3 separate regions of the Homo sapiens genome follow, and all the other regions are linked to region 1. Evidence: promoter capture Hi-C in human tissues and cell types (Jung and others, 2019). All regions are on one chromosome and are shown on one strand. The core of a region is centred on a gene start or on the middle of the fragment in contact, and the rest is flanking DNA. Distances in the headings are between cores, read along the strand shown.

What was found. The method cuts DNA at HindIII sites, captures the fragments that hold promoters and counts their contacts. A contact is called where the count stands out against the background at its distance.
Region 2: a fragment that was not itself captured here is called in contact with the fragment with the promoter of APOL2 in region 1 in 1 of the 25 tissues and cell types used here (dorsolateral prefrontal cortex).
Region 3: a contact is called between a fragment that was not itself captured here and the fragment with the promoter of APOL2 in region 1, in 1 of the 25 tissues and cell types used here (H1 embryonic stem cells).

What each region holds. Positions count from the first base shown.
Region 1 is chr22:36,237,794-36,241,565 of GRCh38, forward strand. APOL2 (apolipoprotein L2) reads right to left here and starts at 1,734. Exons shown (of 5, transcript NM_030882.4): 1 at 1,648-1,734. RefSeq lists enhancers at 661-1,175, 1,713-1,962, 1,973-2,022. The HindIII fragment of the contact is 12,319 bases long and covers 1-3,772 here.
Region 2 is chr22:35,464,284-35,468,055 of GRCh38, forward strand. No RefSeq gene overlaps it. Among named protein-coding and RNA genes, the nearest start is that of MCM5, 66 kb to the left of the region's middle. The HindIII fragment of the contact is 6,473 bases long and covers 1-3,772 here.
Region 3 is chr22:35,628,451-35,632,222 of GRCh38, forward strand. LOC284912 (a long non-coding RNA gene) reads right to left here. Exons shown (of 4, transcript XR_001755514.1): 3 at 2,964-3,043. Among named protein-coding and RNA genes, the nearest start is that of MB, 13 kb to the left of the region's middle. The HindIII fragment of the contact is 7,418 bases long and covers 1-3,772 here.

The DNA of each region.
Region 1 (3,772 bases), core at 484-2,983:
CACCTTCCTCACCGCTCCCTGCCACCACAGTCACCTTAGGTCCAGGCACCCACTGACGCCCTGCTTCGGTGCCTCCTGGAGCCCATCTACTCCTCCCACTCCCATCCCCAGCCTCAGGCCTTCACTCAGCTGCTCCCTCGCCCTGGAATGTCCCCCCCACTGTCCCCACCATGTGCAAGTCACCTGTCCTCAGAGACCCACCCAAAGCTGCCTGGTCCATGCGGCGGCCCCCAACCCTCCCCAGGCTCCCTGAGCACTCTGCTTTCCAGAGGGAGCTCTACCTGTATGTGGCTCTTTGGGCCTCTGTCTCCCCTTTAGACTCTGAACATTCAATGGGGACACTGTTGTGTTCCCAGCTGCACCCCCTACGACTGACCTGGATGCCCTCCGCCCTCCCTGGCACAGCCTGGCTGAAATCCCAGGTGCAGGAGGCATTACTTGAACTAAAAGCAACCAGCCTCTGGATGACATGGCCCAGCTTCAGTTTCACTTTCAGTTGAGAAATTGAATTTAATTTTTCTTTCTATCTTGATGGGCATCTCTTTTTGGTGAAGAACAAATAAGACCATGACTCATATTTCACAGAAATTACCCCCCTGATTTCATGGACTTTTGGCAGCTCTATCAAGTTTTTTAGAGGGGAAAAATCTTAGGCTGGGAGGGGAGGTGACTTGCCCAGAGTCACACAGCTCTTGGAGGGCAGAGGGGAGGCCAACATCTGCCCTTGTGACTCTGATATTGAAGCAAAAATGGGTGATTTTAATAATCCAACAGTGTCCAGGTTTGATTCTGCTTCTACAAACACAGAGACCTAAGCTCTCACTCCTGTAGTTATACTCACAATTCCACAGTGTGGCTTTTGAATCTCATGATTGCAAAGCTGGCATCATGCCACAGGTACCATTCTGCAATGCGACCTTCTCACTCCCCTGTCTCAGCCATGTTTCCCATTAGGGACACAGCACAGCCTGTTTCTTCTCTATCAGCTCAGAGGTCTGAACAGAGGGACAGAGGTGAGGGCCAGAGACGTGAAGTCCTATGATCTGCCTGCTCAGCCTCCTGACACGGGACCCTGGCAAGTCATTCCCCTCCCAGGGCCTCAGTTTCCCCACAGGGCCTGGCACAAGTAGGTGCTCAGACTCAGGGTGAGTGAGACAACCTCTGAGTTCCTTGTGTCTCAAAAGAAATCTGTTGTTCCCATTGGGCTTCAGCAGCAGCACCCTGGGGCCAGCCTGGGTGTGGCCCGGCCACAAGGACATGCCGGGCTCCAGGTCACCTCCCCTCCTCCACCTTCTTTGATTCCTTCAAATTTCCCAAAGAGATGGGCACCCCCAACACCTACCTTTCTTCTGGGGTCAGCTGGCCGTGTCTGAGGGTGTCAGAACCAGAGCTGAGCCCGGGGAGCTTTGTGAACCCATCTAAGCTGTTTTCCCCACCTCTCTCTACAGTTTACCCGCCCAGCAGGAGGGAGGGAGCAATCAGACTCAAGCCTGGGTGCAAATCCCGGCTCTGCCACTGCTTTCCTGTCTGATCTGAACCAGCTACCTAACCTCTCTGAGCTTATCTACAAAAGCTGAATGATCCTTCCCTTATAGAGCTATTGCAAGAATAAGGACATGGGGGTAGATCACACTATCCCCAACTTACCAAGGGATCTTCCTCTGACAGAGACTGAGCAAGATCCAACTGTTCTGAGCTGTGTGGATCCCACGTCCAGCTGTGCATCTGTGTAATAACCAGACACGTCCTCCGGCCTCCCAGATATACCCTGGAATTCGAAAGGGAAAGTGAAAGTCACAACTTCCCAGCAGCTCATGACCAAGCACAGTAAACACGCTGCTCCCCAGCACCACCTGCAGTCCAGGCCCAGCCTCCTTGCTGCTGCACTTAGAGGAGCAGCCGCAGACCAGACATCCGGGTCCCTCTCATCCAACCCACCTGCCTCACATCCTCAGGATTCAAGGTCTGCTGTGTCAGCTGCCCATGTCTCAGGCAGTCAGAACCAGAGTTGAGCCTGGGGAGTTTTTTGAACCCATCTGAGCCGCTTGCCCCCCAACCCCCGCCCCGATCTCTGCAGTTTAAGGGCACAGCAGGTGGGGGAGAGAAGTCAGACTCAAGCCTCAGTGCAATTCCAGGCTCTGCCCCTGTTTTACTGTCTGATCTGAACTAGTTACCTAACCTTTCTGAGCTCAAGAAAGACCTGCCACTGACTGACCGTGGGGCTCTCCAGATTACTCCCCGTCCTTCCGTTCCCCCACATTCCTCAGATGCCTGCCTTACTCCCACACATGCCATCAGCATCAGCACAGTCCCCCACACATGCTGGGTGGATGCTTATTGCATATTTATTGTAATGCTTCTGAGGTTATGTTTTCTGTTATGTTTTTGATATAGAGTCTTGCTCTGTAGCCCAGGCTGGAGAGCAGTGGCACAATCATAGCTACTTCAAGTGGCACAATCAAGCCATCCTCCCATCTCAGCTTCCGAGTAGCTGGGATTACAGGTGCCTGCCACTACACCCAGCTAATTTTTTGTAATTTTAGTAGAGATGGGGTTTCACCATCTTGGCCAGGCTGGTCTTGAACTCCTGACCTCAAGTGATCCACCTGCCTTGGCCTCCCAAAGTGCTGGGATTACAGGTGTGAGCCACGGCGCCCAGCCCATTGTATCCTTCTTGTGACTTTGTGTCTTCATAGCTTAGCTCCTACTAATAAATGAGAACATACAATATTTGGTTTTCCATTCCTGAGTTACTTCACTCAGAATAATGGTGTCCAACTTCATCCAGATTGTTACGGATGCCATTATTCCCTTCCTTTTTACAGCTGAGTAATATTCCATGGCATATACATATATAGGGGTGTGTGTGTGTGTGTGTGTGTGTGTATATACACACACATTTTCTTCATCCACTTGTTGGCTGATGAGCATTTAGGTTGGTTCCATATTTTTTCGGTTGCAAATTATGCAGCTATAAACATGCATGTGCGAGTATCTTTTTTATATAATAACTTTTCTCCTCTGGGTAGATACCCGGTAGTGGGATTACTGGATCAAATGGTATTCTACTTTTAGTTTTTTAAGGAGTTGCCATACTGTTTTCCATAGTGGTTGTACTAGTTTACATTCCCACCACCAGTGTAAAAGTTTTCCCTTGTCACCATATTCACACCATTTTAGCTAGGCTGGTCTTGAACTCCTGACCTCAAGTGATCCACCTGCTTTGGCCTCCCAAAGTGCTGGGATTACAGGTGTGAGCCACTGCACCCTTCTATTCTTCTTTGATTTTTAAATTATGGCCATTCTTGCAGGAGTAAGGTGGCAACTTATTGCAGTTTTAATTTGCATTTCTCTGATAATTAGTGACGTTGAGCACATTTTCATATTTTTTTGGCCATTTCATTTTGTATATCTTCTTTTGAGAATTGTCTATTCATGTCCTTTGCCCACTTTTTGATGGGATTATTTTTTTTTTCTTGCTGATTTGTTTGAGTTCCTTGTAGAAACTGGATATTAGTCCTTTGTCAAATGCACAGTTTGCAAATATTTTCTCCCACTTTGAGGGTTGTCTGTTTTCTCTGCTGATTATTTATTTTGCTGTGCAGAAGCTTTTTACTTTAATTAGGTCCCATCTCTTTATTTTTGTTTTCGTTGCATTTATTTTTGGGTTCTTGGTCCTGAATTCTTTGCCTAAGCCAATGTCTGGAGGAGTTTTTCCGATGTTATCTTCTAGAATTTTTATGGTTTCAGGTTTTAGATTTAAGTCTTTGAT
Region 2 (3,772 bases), core at 393-2,892, 770 kb before region 1:
TGCAGAAGGCAAGGCCCAGGGTCTAGCTGTGAGGCCCTGTCCCTTGGTTGGGATCAAGTTGACAAGACAAGAGCAGCTGCCCCATGTGTGGCAGGAAGCTATTGCTGAGACCTGGAAGTTGAGTGATCATTATTTTGGATTCTGGCAGTAGGGAGACCATATTGTTTTGTATTTTGTTCCCACCCTCACACAGTAATGATGATGCCAGTGAGGACAACACTGGTTAACACTTCTGCGGGGGAGGTTTGCCCTGTACCAGGTGCAGTTATGTGCCCTGGATACCTATGACTAATTAGAGGTAGGGCTGCTGCCAGCATCCCTTAAACAGGTGTGGCCCCTGGAGGCACAGGGCTGTGAAGTAACTTCCTAAACTCACTCAGCTGTGGCAAAACCAAGCGAGGCCCTTGTAGCTGGGGTTACACTGGAGAGTCACACTCTTCCACGGACTGCCTCAACTACTCCACTCTGCCAACTCAACTATTAGCAGAATGGTGCCTGGGGTAACAGTGGACCACCAAGGACAGTAAAAGTCTCCAAGCACACTCTTTAGGCAGTGGCATGAGGTAGTGGCAGCTTGCCCTCTTCAGGGGGATAAGAGGATAGTGGCTGAGAGTGGTATCCTGGAGCCAGTCTCCTGGGTTTGAGTCCCAACTCTGCCTTTTACTACCGTGTGACTTTGGGCAACTTACCCTCTCTGTGTGTCATTTTTCTCATCTATAAAATAAGACCACTCACAGTGTTTCCGTCAAGGTTGATGTGAAGATTAATGGGATAATGGCGGTCAGGAGCTTGGCCTCGGTCTTATTTCTGTATCAGCTGGGGGACTGTGGGCAGGTACTCAGCCTTTCTAGACCCCACTTTCCTCTTATCTGGGATGAAAAGAAACCCAGCTGGGACCTCACACATGACAAAGGCTCAGTGAGGTGGAGAGTCCCAAGCAGATGAGAGGGATGTCTGGTTGCAGGGCAAAGGGACTGGGTCCTAGGAGTATTTGGATGCGTGGCTGGGTTGGATGAGGCAATCGACAGTGGACAGGCTGTCCTGGGAAGCCTGCTCCCCAGCTGCCTGGGGTGAATGCCAGGGCCTGCAGCTTTCACAGGGGCCGTGGCTGGGGCCAGCATCCGTGCATTCTGGGGCCTGGTCTTGCTGCCTCTTTGAACACTGGCTTCAGGTGTTCAAATTCCTATGGTTCAGTGTCCTCCCTGCGGTCCTGAGTAGCACTGCAGGGCTGTGGCCAGGAGCCCAGGGCTGGTGTTTGACCTTCTGGGCCTATGAGTGCCGAGGTGGCCAGGGCTCCTCTCGGCCTCCTCAGTGTGTTAGGTCTTTCTCCTTTTATTTTTATTTATTTATTTGAGACAAGGTCTTGCTCTGTTGCCCAGGGTAGAGTGCAGTGGGACCATCGTAGCTCACTGCGACCTTGAACTCCTGGGCTCAAGTGATCCTAGGACTACAGATTCCAGTAGCTGGGCCTACAGACATGTGCCACCACATCTGGCTAGTTTTTTTGTTTGTTTGTTTTTGAGATGGAGTCTCGCTCTGATGTCCAGGCTGGAGTGCAGTGGCGCGATCTCAGCTCACTGCAACCTCCACCTCCCGGGTTCAAGTGATTCTTCTGCCTCAGCCTCCCAAGTAGCTGAGGATTACAGGCGCACACCACCATGCCAGGTTAATTTTTGTATTTTTTGTAGAGATGAGGTTTCACTGTGTTGGCCAGGCTGGTCTCAAACTCCCAACCTCAAGTGATCCATCCATCTCAGCCTCCCAAAGTCATGCCTGGCTAATTTAAAAATATATTTATTTTTATAGGGACAAGTTCTTGCTATGTTTCCCAGGCTGGTCTCAAACTTCTGGGCTCAAGTGATCCTCCTGCCTCGGCTTCCCAAAGTGCTGGGATTACAGGCATGAGCCATCCATCTGGCCGCTCTTTCTTTTTAAATTATTTATTGAAAAAAATTAAAAAATTTTTATGGGTACATAGTAGGTGTATATATTTACTGGGTAGATGAGATATCCATTACCTCAAGCATTTATCCTTTGTGTTACAAACAACCCAATTATACTGTTAGTTATTTTGAAATGTACAATTAAATTATTATTGGCTATAATTACCCTGCTGTGCTATCAAATACTAGATCTTATTCATTCCTTTTTTTCTGAGACAGGGTCTTGTTCTGTCACGTAGGCTGGAGTACAGTGCTGTGATCATGGCTCACTGCAGCCTTGACCTCCTGGGCCCAAGCAATCCTCCCACTTCAGCCTCCCAAGTAGCTGGGACTATAGGTGTGCACCACCATGTCCGGCTAATTTTGTTTATTTTTTACAGAGACAGGGTCTTACTATGTTTCCCAGGCTGGTGTTGAACTCCTGGGTTCACAAATTCCTCCTGCCTCAGCCTCCCAAAGTGTTGCTATTATAGGTGTGAGCCACCATGCCTGGCCTTATTCATTCTTTCTACTATATTTTTGGACCCATTAACCATCCCTACTTTCCCCTGCCCCCCAACTACCCTTCCCAGCGTATAACCATCATTCTACTCTCTATCTCCATGGTTCAATTGTTTTAATTTTTAGCTCCCACAAATAAGTGAGAACATGTGAAGTTCGTCTTTCTGTGCCCGGCTTGCTTCACTTAACATAATGACCTCCAGTTTCATCCATGTTGTTGCAAATGACAGGATTTCATTCTTTTTTTTTTTTTTTTTTTTTGAGACGGAGTCTCCCTCTGTCGCCAGGCTGGAGTGCAGTGGCACGATCTCGGCTCACTGCAACCTCCAACTCCCTGGTTCAAGCGACTCTCCTGCCTCAGCCTCCCAAGTAGCTGGGATTACAGGCGTGCGCCACCATGCCCAGCTAATTTTTGTATTTTTAGGAGAGACAGGGTTTCACCGTGTTGGCCAGGGTGGCCTCTATCTCCTGCCCTTGTGTTCTGCCCGCCTTGGCCTCCCAAAGTGCTAGGATTACAGGCGTGAGCCACTGTGCCCAGCCTTTTGCCCATTTTAAAACTGGGTTATTAGGATTTTTCCTATAGGGTTGTTTGAGTTCCTTATCTATTCGATTATTAATCCCTTGTCAGATGTATAGTTTGCAAATATTTTCTCCCCTTCTGTGGGCTGTCTCTTCGCCTTGCTGATTGTTTCCTTTGCTGTGCAGAAGCTTTTTAACTTGATGGGATCCCATTTGTCCATTTTTGCTTTGGTTGCCTGTGCTTGTGAGGTATTTTTCAAGAAATCCGCCCAGAACAACGTCCTGGAGAGTTTCCCCATCTCCTTTTTTTCAAGTCTTATGCTTATTTATATTTATAAATATGACTTTTAGGTTTTTTTGAGGTGTGATTTGCCTCTTTTCAGTGCACAGTTTTACAAGTTTTGAAAAACAAAGTCACGCAAACACTGCCACAATCAAGACACGGAGCAGTTCCATCACCCCCCCGAAATTCTCTAATCTCAGCCCCTCAGCATCCCTGGATGCCAGGCTTAAGAAGTGGACTTCCTTCCCCTGGCAGAAGGAGGGCAGGGTCGGGCTCCGCGTCTGGGGGCTGTAGGCAGGGCTGGGGCTGTGCCATCTGCCTGCTCCTTCCTTCTGGCTGAGAGCACTGGGAGGAGGAGCCTGCAGGCTGAGGACAGGCTGTGCTGGGAGCAGGAAGCAAAGATCCCAGGCCCCAGAGCAGCTTCTGACCTTTAGAGGCTGCCTTTGTCTTGGACAGCCAGCTCTCCAGCTGCCTGCGGGGAATGCCCGGGCCTGCAGCTTTCACAGGAGCCATGGCCTGGGCCAGC
Region 3 (3,772 bases), core at 888-3,387, 610 kb before region 1:
CTATTCTTCCCATTAGCGTGAGTTGGACTCATTTCTTGGGAATCAATGCCCCATCCTTATTCTGCTAACACAGGATTGGGTTCCCCTTCCAGAGTTGCATCACAAAACATCCTGAATTTATCTGGCAATTTGGAGAAGCCTCAGTTTACCCCATCGGGCTGAGGGTTACAGTCTAAGCTATAGGAAGTGCCAGCGTAGAGGAGGCAGCAGACGTCACCTGGGGAGGATGTGAGGGAGGAAGAGAAGGACCCTTGCGGGGGTCAGCAGCATTTCAGAATTGGGAAGAAGAAGAGGAGGTGGGGAAGAAAACTTCCTAGAGGGGACGACAGGGTCAGGCCTGCATTTGAAGGGTGGATGAGAAGAAAGCCTCATGGGAGATGAGGAGGACTACTAAGGGCTTCTTATGTACCAGGCTTGGGTGAGGGCAGAAATACAAATATGGCTGCCTACACTGGTGTGTTAGCATACTAGCTGCTGTAACAAACAGCCCCCAAATCTCATGATGTGTCCTTAGCCATGGCTCAAAAGATTTCGTTCTCATTTATCTCCCAGTCCAATGTAAGCTGAGAAGAGGGCTCTCCTGCACCCAGTGATTCAGGCACTCAGGCTCCCTCCCCAAGGACTTCCAAAACCCCCATCCCTCTGCATCCAGCAGGCAAACCGCTGGAGAAAGAAATGAGGGTGGGCTGGGCAAGGTGGCTCACGCCTGAAATCTCAGCACTTTGGGAGGCAGAGGTGGGTGGATCACTGGAAGCCAGGAGTTCGAGACCAACCTGGCCAACATGGTGAAATCCTGTCTCTACTACAAATACAAAAATAAGCCTGACATCATGGTGGGCGCCTGTAATCCCAGCTACTCGGGAGGCTGAGGCAGGAGAATCACCTGAACTCGGGAGGCGGAGGTTGCAGTGAGCCGAGGTCACGCCGCTGTACTCCAGCCTGGGCAACAAGAGTGAAACTCCATCTCCCAAAAAAAAAAAAAAAAAAAGGGTGGAGGATCTTGTAAGGGGTTTTAGGGGGTATGCCTGAAAGTGGTGCTCATTGCTTCTGCCCAAATTCCATCAGCCAGATCACAGCCACAGGCACCGCTTACTTGGAGGGAGTTGTGGGAATGAGGTCTCTCTGTGTGCCCAGGAGGAAATGAAACAGGGTTTGGTGACTGTACGGCATTGCCTGCCCAGTCATGGCCCAAGATAATAATAATAATCTAGTGGAAAGATGAGAAAGGGAAGCTGGGAATAAAATATTTATATAAAGAATGCACCCTAATATTCCACACAGCACATAATAGGTGCTCAATACTTTTTCAAGTGAGTGCTGTATCACCACTGATCAAATACACAGGCGCTGGGGCAGGTTCCAGGGGCTGGGGAGAGGGTTGATGGCACAATAGAGGCATGAAAGGTGGTAAGAGCAAAGTTAGAGAAGCAGGAATGCACGTGGAATGTTCAGAAAACCCAGAGAAGACCAGTTTGGCTGGGTCAGAAGTTTTGTGAAGAGGATGGGTCACGGAGGCAGTTGGAATGTAGGCTTGGAGGGCATGGGGAATGATTTTGAACTTGAAGAATGTTGGCGGCTCTCAGCAGGCCCTGAGGAGTGGCTGTGGTTGTGGGGTGGGGTGGGGGTTCCCAGGCATCCTGGATGAATCATCAGGGTCAGTTAAAATTAGTCACCACGACCCCGCAGGGGAAGCCAAAAGACAGTTGTGTGGCTTATGTGGTAGCTGGGATTTGCCTCGCTGGGGGATCTTTGGCCTTCTTAGTTTGGAGATGGGGGAGCAGAGGAGGGAGAGGAGAGGAGGAGGAAGAGGGGAGGAGGAGGAGGAAGAGGGGAGAAGGAGGAACAGGGGAGGAGGGAAGGAGGCGGAGGGGAAGGAGAAGAGGAGGGGGGGAGGAGGAGGAGGGGAGGAGGAGGGGAGGAGGAGGAGGAGGAGAAGGAGTCCCACTCCACCCTGCCCCCATGATGTGCGAGCACTAAGATGGCCTGGGACAGAACTGGATACGACACAGTTTGGGGAGCTCTTCTGAAGGCTAATAATGGTAAGTTCAAGTACACATAAATGTCTTTCTCTCTCAAGGAACAGTCCCAGGCTTAAAAGCCTTGTGGGGCTGCTCCACCAAGCAGCCCTGGTTCTTCCTGTGGCATTGCTCAGCCCCGACCCACACATCCACATTCCAGCCCCAGCCAGCAAGGAGGACTGGGAAGGGAGGGCACATCCCCTCCTAAGGGAAGGCCCACACTCAGCTCAGTCCTCACTGGCTGGAATGTGGTCACATGGTAAAGCCGGCTGCAAGGGAGGCTGGGAAGCCTCTTTAACTATGTGGCCATGGCACAGCTAAAACTTGGGGATCCTATCATTAAGGGAAGAAAGAGAGAAGGGAGACAGTGTATCTAAGCAGAGAAGCCTGAGCTTTTCCTGCTGGTTCCCCGTGGATTGAGGGTATCGTGCAGGGTCTGACATTCCCGGGTGCTCCGCTGAGGGGAGGTGGAGTTGTGGAGGTGGCTGGTGGTCCCTGGAAAACTGGGAATTGAGACAAAAGAGCTCTGAGCCCAAAGATTCAGCACGTAGACGCAAAAGGTCCTGGCCATGAACTTGACAGCACAAGACCACAGAAGGCCCGGTGGACCAGGTACACCTCAGCAGGCGTCCAGGTCCCCAGAACAAAACAGTCATCCTGGAGCAGAGAGCAGGGACCTGGGGACGCCCCAGCATCTGCACACCTGTCCAAGGGCCCATCTTCCCGCCTTTGCTCTCCTCCCATCTATCCAGCACCATGTTGGAGAGGAGTAGGTGTGGAGGTAGCCAAAGGAGGAAACTGAAATACTGAGTATATACCAGGAAGACTAAGATGCCATTGTTGGCTCATCTAAGTTGCCCCCTGACACGCTGCAGTGAGAGAAGCTTAAAAACAAGAGGCAGTGTCTTACAGTGGTCAAGGGTGTGGATTCCGGAGCTAGACTACCTGCATTTGAATCCTGGTTTCACTGCTTGCTGTGTGACCTTGAGAAAGTTACTTAATCCCTCCGTTCCTCCTTTCTCCATCTGTCAAATAGCAGTAATTAGAACCTGCCTCAGAGGGTGTTGTGAAATCTGAACTACTTATAATACTTAAAACTATACCTCGTACGGAGTAAGCACTCAATACACATGGGCTATTGGTCTCAATTATAGATAATAAAGAAAACACATTTTTAAAACATCTGCGTTGAAATGATTTAAAATTTTACCTGTTACATGATGAGTGAATAAGAGCTGTGAGGCCGGCGAGGGCAGGTACTGTATCTATCTTGCGTTGCCATTGCTCAGTTCAGGGCCAAGTTCATGACAATGCCAGCCTCACCACCACCACTTGGGGCGCCACACCCTAAGCACATACCACTGGCCTGTCTGGGTCCAGTAGCTTTGAGTCCTTTATAAGCAGTGGCTCATTTAGTCCTCATGACCATCTTAACTAGGAGGTACTTGGTAATAATTGCTGAATAAAGGAAATGCCTTCCACCCAGGACAGGTGAATAATGGATGGAAAAGTGCTTTGTAAACTGTAAAGCAGGCTACTTGTGAGGATGCAAACACTTAGGACCCCTTCCCCAAGGGCCTAGGATTCTGTTCTACTTTCGGCTTGGCTGTTACCTTGGGAGGAATGCACCCTGTGTTCTAGAATTTTCCCTCCACATGTCCCTCTTTCAAAATGTAGCTGTCTTGGTGTTCGAGACCAGCCTGGCCAACATGATGAAACCCTGTCTCTACTAAAAATATAAAAATTAGTTGGGG